Regions from separate parts of the Homo sapiens genome. Here region 1 is linked to region 2. Evidence: promoter capture Hi-C in human tissues and cell types (Jung and others, 2019). All regions are on one chromosome and are shown on one strand. The core of a region is centred on a gene start or on the middle of the fragment in contact, and the rest is flanking DNA. Distances in the headings are between cores, read along the strand shown. Region 1 holds the start of GSDMA (gasdermin A). Region 2 holds the start of CDK12 (cyclin dependent kinase 12).

Region 1 (3,377 bases), core at 581-3,080, 500 kb after region 2:
CATGTTGGCCAGGCTGGTCTCGAACTCCTGACCTCAGGTGATCCACCCACTTCTGCCTCCCAAAGTGCTGGAATTACAGCCGTGAACCACCGCACCCAGCCTAACGACAACCTTCCCACACACTCAAGCCCCCACCTCTGCCTCTCCTAAGGAGAAGGGACATTTGATTGCTGGAATGGCTGGAGCTGTGGAAGGAGGATGAAGTATTGGGTGGCTGCAGTGAGCCATGATCAAGCCACTGCGCTCCAGCCTGGGTGACAGAGCGAGGCCCCGTCTCAAAAAGGTGTAGGGTGGATGGGAAAGTATGTAAAGAAAAAGAGAGTGAGCAGGGACCAGAGAGGCAGAGGCAAGGCTTGGCTTTGTTCTGTTTCAAGACATAGAGAAGAGATATTTGGGAGCATCTGTCATATTGAATGAGACTTTGGGGACACAAGTGGAGTAATGACTATTTTAGGGAGTTTTCCTAAGTGTGGAATGGTCTAGTCTCATTCACCATCAGCCCCTCAAGGAAACGTTCAGTAAAGATGGAATTGGCCGGGCGCAGTGGCTCATCCTGTAATCCCAGCACTTTGGGAGGCCGAGGCGGGCGGATCATGAGGTCAGGAGATCAAGACCCTCCTGGCCAACATGGCGAAACCCCGTCTCTAATAAAAATACAAAACTAGCCAGGCATGGTGGTGCATGCCTGTAATCCCAGCTACTCGGGAGGCTGAGGCAGAGAACTGTTTGAACCCGGGAGGTGGAAGTTGCAGTGAGCTGAGATTGCACCGCTGCACTCCAGCCTGGAGGACAGAGCGAGACTCCTTCTCAAAAAAAAAAAAGATGGAATTTACTCTTCACAGCATTCAGGGTTGCGTTTCTTTTTCCATGAGTGGTACTAAGAAGAGCCTCAAGGTGGGAGCAGGAAGGCTCTGCTGTGTCAGGTTATACCTGCACATATGCATGGCCACATGGCCCAACACTGTAAGGGCCTTGCTTGTAAGTCCCTTATTCTGTCCTCTAGCAATGTGACCATGTAGGCAACATTTGAAATTCCTTTAAAATTCCTTCTAGGCAGAGATTTAAGCTAAGAGGAGGACCTGAGTGACCTCTGGTGCAACATCTGAAAGCCCACGACAAGCCTCCTGGGCTTTTCCATGAATATCGCCGTGCCCCTGCCTACGGATATGCTGATGTGTGTATACAATATTCTGTGAGAAGCAGAGACGCTGAACACTAAACAACACAAACCCATTTGGTCTAACTCCATCTCTGCCTACTCAGACATCTGCTTCTAGCGGTATCAGAGTTATGTCTATGTAGCTAAAACAAATGGAGTAAGGCAGCAATACACACAGGCTGACAAGCCCAGGATGGAGGGCGGCACTGCAGATGCTCTGCTCTCTACTGGAATGTGTGGACATACAGGAATCCCTATCCCAGGACACCCGCAGACCCCCACCATGAATCCGAGATGCTCCCCAATGACGGTGATGATGACAGAACAGAGATGCCATCCCTGGTCACACACACACACACACACACACACACACTCCCACTGCCTCCCTCTGCACCCCTCCCAAAGGCACCTGCCTTCCTCTCCTCTCAATCCACAAGCCAACCTCCAGCTGCCACCTCTCTATCAGCCTTGGCTACCCCCACCCACGCTGGCACCTGCCTGGCAGCTCCCTATCCACCCCCTCAGCCCTCAGGAGGCCAGGGCACACGTGGAACAGGTTGATGTTGTTCTCCAGGAAGTGGAGTGGGAGGGGGGTGGGGTCACTAGGGCAGGCGGGGTCCCCGGAAGCCTCTGTCCCTGCATAAAGCAGCCTGTCCTGGCAAGGGATGGTCATCCTCTCAACCTACAGACCCAGTGAGCCCTAGGCCCTCACCCCAGACCCAGCTGCTGGATAGGACCCAGCCCCGCTCCCAGGTAAGAACTTGATGACAGCAGGGAAGGCAGGGGTGCTCTGAGGACACAGGAAGATGGGTGGACCAAGAAGGGAATGGAACTCCCCTAGAGTCCAGTGGGATAAGTATCCCGATAGGCCTTGGGGAGGGAAGGGAGAGGCAGGCCTGTGGACATCTCTCTGGTGAAGAGGAGGCTGCTGTTGCCCAAGCCCTTCCCAGGTGCACCCAGGTAGCACCAGGAGGTTGTCCTGCCCCATCCTGGCCCTCCCAGGAATGAGGGTGAAAAAAAAAAAGCACCTTGAAGCTGGCAGAACAGCCCCACGCATCTGTGCCGTGCTTCCTGCCCCCCCTGCTGCTGTGAAGTGCCTGTGGTGGATGTGGGATGCTTCCAAGCCAGCTGGTGTGGCCTCTTCCACCCACGGGGATAACTGGGGTGTGCCGATCGGCCACCCAGCCAGAGCACCTGGACTCAAACTTCAAAGACAGAGACTTAAGATGTTGACCCTCAGGTCAGGTGCGGTGGCTCACACCTGTAATCCCAGCACTTTGGGAGGGTGAGATGGGCGGATCACCTGAGGTCAGGAGTTCAAGACCAGCCTGGCCAACATGGTGAAACACCGTCTCTACTAAAAACACAAAAATTAGCTGGGCATGGTGGCAGGCGCCTGTAATCCCAGCTACCTGGGAGACTGAGGCAGGAGAATCACTTGAACCCAGGAGATGGAGGTTGCAGTGAGCCGAGATCATGCCATTGCACTCCAGCCTGGGCAACAAGAATGAAACTCCATCTCAAAAAGAAAAAAAAAATGTTGCCTCTCAGGTTCCCATGGGCCCCACATTCTCCAGGGCCCTCTCATCCTAGCGCACATCTCTCAGGGCCACATTCATTGGTTCTTTCCACACACATTTGCCAAGCTCGAACTCTGTGCCAGGTGTGGTACTTGCTGCTGCAGAGGTGACTAAGACCCATTTCCTGCCCTCTGGGAAGTCACAGACGAGTTGCTGATAGGGTCAGGTGAACAGATCATAACAAAGGAAGGTGCATCAGAAGAGCGCTTTGGAAACACAGATACAGTCACCAGCTGCCTGGAGGACTGAGGGAAGAGGTTCCAGGAGGTGACCTGAATTGAGCATTAGCGGAGGACTAGGGAGTCTTCAGATCCGGAAGCGGGTATTGTAAGCAGAGGGGGCAAAGGTGAAGAGCATCAAAATGCCTGGATCCTGGCTGGGCACAGAGGCTCACACCTGTAATCACAGTACTTTGGGAGGTCAAGGAGGGCGGATCATTTGAGGTCAGGAGTTCGAGACCAGCCTGACCAACATGGTGAAACCCTGTCTCCATTAAAAATACAAAAATTAGCCAGGCGTGGTGGCACACACCTGCAGTCCCAGCTACTCGGGAGGCTGAGGCAGGAGAATCGCTTGAATCTGAGAGGTGGAGACTGCAGGGAGCCGAGATGGCACCACTGCACTCCACCCTGGGCAAC
Region 2 (3,557 bases), core at 155-2,654:
TATGCTTTTCTTGTTCATATTATAATCTTTTGTATGAGGATGAAAGGCTAAATTATCCAATAACGGCCATGGGAGGATCTCAAGATGGGATGAGCTTTTAGGTTCTGAGATTTGAAGCAAAGATTGGTAAGGAGACAACACCATAGGATGGAAGAGCTTGTGTTTTAGTCTCAGAAAGACATGAATTTGAATGTTGACTGTGGCACTTGTTGGACCAAATTATTCAACTTCCCTGAGGCTGGGATTCCTTTTCTATAAAACAGGGATGAAAATCTCGTGTTTTGCAGGATAATTGTGAAAATTAGAGATAATGTATGTAAAATTCTTGGCAGGTAGCACACACCCTATATGTGGGAAGCACTGTTAAAACACTCAGGGACTTGGGTTGAAATGTCCCGACATTTGTCTTTTGCTCTGTAAAAAATAATCTCAACCGGGCGCGGTGGCTCAAGCCTGTAATCCCGCCACTTTGGGAGGACCAGACGGGCAGATTGCTTCATTCTAGGAGTTCAAGACCAAGGATCGCGGATTGCTTGAGTCTAGGAGTTCGAGACTAGCCTGGGCAACATGGCGAAACCCCATCACTACGAATAATAGAAACAAATTAGCACGGCGTGGTGGCGCGACTCTATAGTTCCAAGTACTCGGCAGGATGAGGTGGGAGGATTGCTTGAGCCCAGGAGGTGGAGGCTGCAGTGAGCCGAGATCGTGCCACTGCACTCCAGTCTGGGCAAAAGAGAGAGAACTTGTCTCAAACAAACAAAAAAATGGCCCGGCGCGGCGGTTCACGCCTGTAATCCTAGCACTTTGGGAGGCCGAGGCGGGAGGATCACTTGAGGTCAGGAGGTCGAGACCAGCCTGGCCAACATGGTGAAACCCTGTCTCTACTAAAAACAAAAAAGTTAGCCGGGCGTGGTGGCGGGCGCCTGTAATCCCAGCTACTCGGGAGGCTGAGGCAGGAGAATCGCTTGAACCCAGGAGGTGGAGGTTGCAGTGAGCCGAGATCGCGCCACTAACACTCCAGGATGGGCTACAGAGCGAGACTCCGTCTCAAAGGAAAACAAAAAACAAACAAAAAAAAGTCATCCTGGTAGTTAAAAGATTTGTTAAAAAGGATGTTGAAATTATTTTGTCACGGAGCCTGGGAGTGTTTGTTTAATCAGTTACCGATAAAGTTTTGGTTAAAAAAAAAAAACTCGGTTTGTTCCGTTTCAATAAAGCTTTGCTCAAACGGGGAGCTCCGGGAGCTCATCGCGAGACTCAGGTGAAACGCGTTTCTAGTTTGGGACCTGATCTCGCGTTGTTTGATAAGCAGGGGAATGAGGTGAAAGCGAAGCACGAAACATCGCGAGAGGCTACTGGACTCTCGCGACGATTTCTGGGATTGCCCCTCCCCCCTTCCCCAAGTGCCGTTTCGGTTTAATCTAGTGTGTGACTGGGTCTGTGTGAGGGAGAGAGTGTGTGTGGTGTGGAGGTGAAACGGAGGCAAGAAAGGGGGCTACCTCAGGAGCGAGGGACAAAGGGGGCGTGAGGCACCTAGGCCGCGGCACCCCGGCGACAGGAAGCCGTCCTGAACCGGGCTACCGGGTAGGGGAAGGGCCCGCGTAGTCCTCGCAGGGCCCCAGAGCTGGAGTCGGCTCCACAGCCCCGGGCCGTCGGCTTCTCACTTCCTGGACCTCCCCGGCGCCCGGGCCTGAGGACTGGCTCGGCGGAGGGAGAAGAGGAAACAGACTTGAGCAGCTCCCCGTTGTCTCGCAACTCCACTGCCGAGGAACTCTCATTTCTTCCCTCGCTCCTTCACCCCCCACCTCATGTAGAAGGGTGCTGAGGCGTCGGGAGGGAGGAGGAGCCTGGGCTACCGTCCCTGCCCTCCCCACCCCCTTCCCGGGGCGCTTTGGTGGGCGTGGAGTTGGGGTTGGGGGGGTGGGTGGGGGTTGCTTTTTGGAGTGCTGGGGAACTTTTTTCCCTTCTTCAGGTCAGGGGAAAGGGAATGCCCAATTCAGAGAGACATGGGGGCAAGAAGGACGGGAGTGGAGGAGCTTCTGGAACTTTGCAGCCGTCATCGGGAGGCGGCAGCTCTAACAGCAGAGAGCGTCACCGCTTGGTATCGAAGCACAAGCGGCATAAGTCCAAACACTCCAAAGACATGGGGTTGGTGACCCCCGAAGCAGCATCCCTGGGCACAGTTATCAAACCTTTGGTGGAGTATGATGATATCAGCTCTGATTCCGACACCTTCTCCGATGACATGGCCTTCAAACTAGACCGAAGGGAGAACGACGAACGTCGTGGATCAGATCGGAGCGACCGCCTGCACAAACATCGTCACCACCAGCACAGGCGTTCCCGGGACTTACTAAAAGCTAAACAGACCGAAAAAGAAAAAAGCCAAGAAGTCTCCAGCAAGTCGGGATCGATGAAGGACCGGATATCGGGAAGTTCAAAGCGTTCGAATGAGGAGACTGATGACTATGGGAAGGCGCAGGTAGCCAAAAGCAGCAGCAAGGAATCCAGGTCATCCAAGCTCCACAAGGAGAAGACCAGGAAAGAACGGGAGCTGAAGTCTGGGCACAAAGACCGGAGTAAAAGTCATCGAAAAAGGGAAACACCCAAAAGTTACAAAACAGTGGACAGCCCAAAACGGAGATCCAGGAGCCCCCACAGGAAGTGGTCTGACAGCTCCAAACAAGATGATAGCCCCTCGGGAGCTTCTTATGGCCAAGATTATGACCTTAGTCCCTCACGATCTCATACCTCGAGCAATTATGACTCCTACAAGAAAAGTCCTGGAAGTACCTCGAGAAGGCAGTCGGTCAGTCCCCCTTACAAGGAGCCTTCGGCCTACCAGTCCAGCACCCGGTCACCGAGCCCCTACAGTAGGCGACAGAGATCTGTCAGTCCCTATAGCAGGAGACGGTCGTCCAGCTACGAAAGAAGTGGCTCTTACAGCGGGCGATCGCCCAGTCCCTATGGTCGAAGGCGGTCCAGCAGCCCTTTCCTGAGCAAGCGGTCTCTGAGTCGGAGTCCACTCCCCAGGTGAGCTATTTGTCTAACAGTCCTTCCTCATTTAGGGTGGGTTGCGAGGAATTGGCATTCAGCGTGTTAACATTGTCTGGAAGCCCGCAGTGTTCATCATTGACTAGAACACTTTGCTGTTGGCTAGTCATTCCAGTGTGTGAATCTGTCTCCCCTTAACCCAGAATTCGAGAAGTGAAGAGTACATAGGCCTCAAACCGCCAAAGGTAGGTACTTCCAGTGGTGGGGTCTTCAGTTGTAAGCTTCTGAGTGAGAAACGTCAAAGGCTTCTGCTTAGTGAGTGGATGGAGTTGATACTAGTTCCCAGAGCATGTCTAGCTATTTCTGTTGCTTAGTTTTATATTTTTAAAAATCACATTGGTATTTGTGCTTTAGACTCTATGGGACCTGGTTGAAGACTTAAGAAATTGGTATGGAAGTTACTTGCCTAGTTTATCCTATTTGTGTTGTCCACTGAATCCCCAAACCTGTACATTTATTCATTTCCTACTTGGCACTGTTTTAATTATTTACAAAAGATT

The links. Contacts are between HindIII fragments. The study calls those that stand out against the background at their distance.
Region 1: the fragment with the promoter of GSDMA here is called in contact with the fragment with the promoter of CDK12 in region 2 in 1 of the 25 tissues and cell types used here (adrenal gland).

Annotation. Positions count from the first base shown.
Region 1 is chr17:39,961,174-39,964,550 of GRCh38, forward strand. GSDMA (gasdermin A) reads left to right here and starts at 1,831. Exons shown (of 12, transcript NM_178171.5): 1 at 1,831-1,912. The HindIII fragment of the contact is 9,331 bases long and covers 767-3,377 here.
Region 2 is chr17:39,460,082-39,463,638 of GRCh38, forward strand. CDK12 (cyclin dependent kinase 12) reads left to right here and starts at 1,405. Exons shown (of 14, transcript NM_016507.4): 1 at 1,405-3,036. The coding sequence starts at 1,991. RefSeq lists enhancers at 1,182-2,106, 1,467-1,516, 1,607-1,666, 1,832-3,031, 2,057-2,186. The HindIII fragment of the contact is 12,986 bases long and covers 1-3,557 here.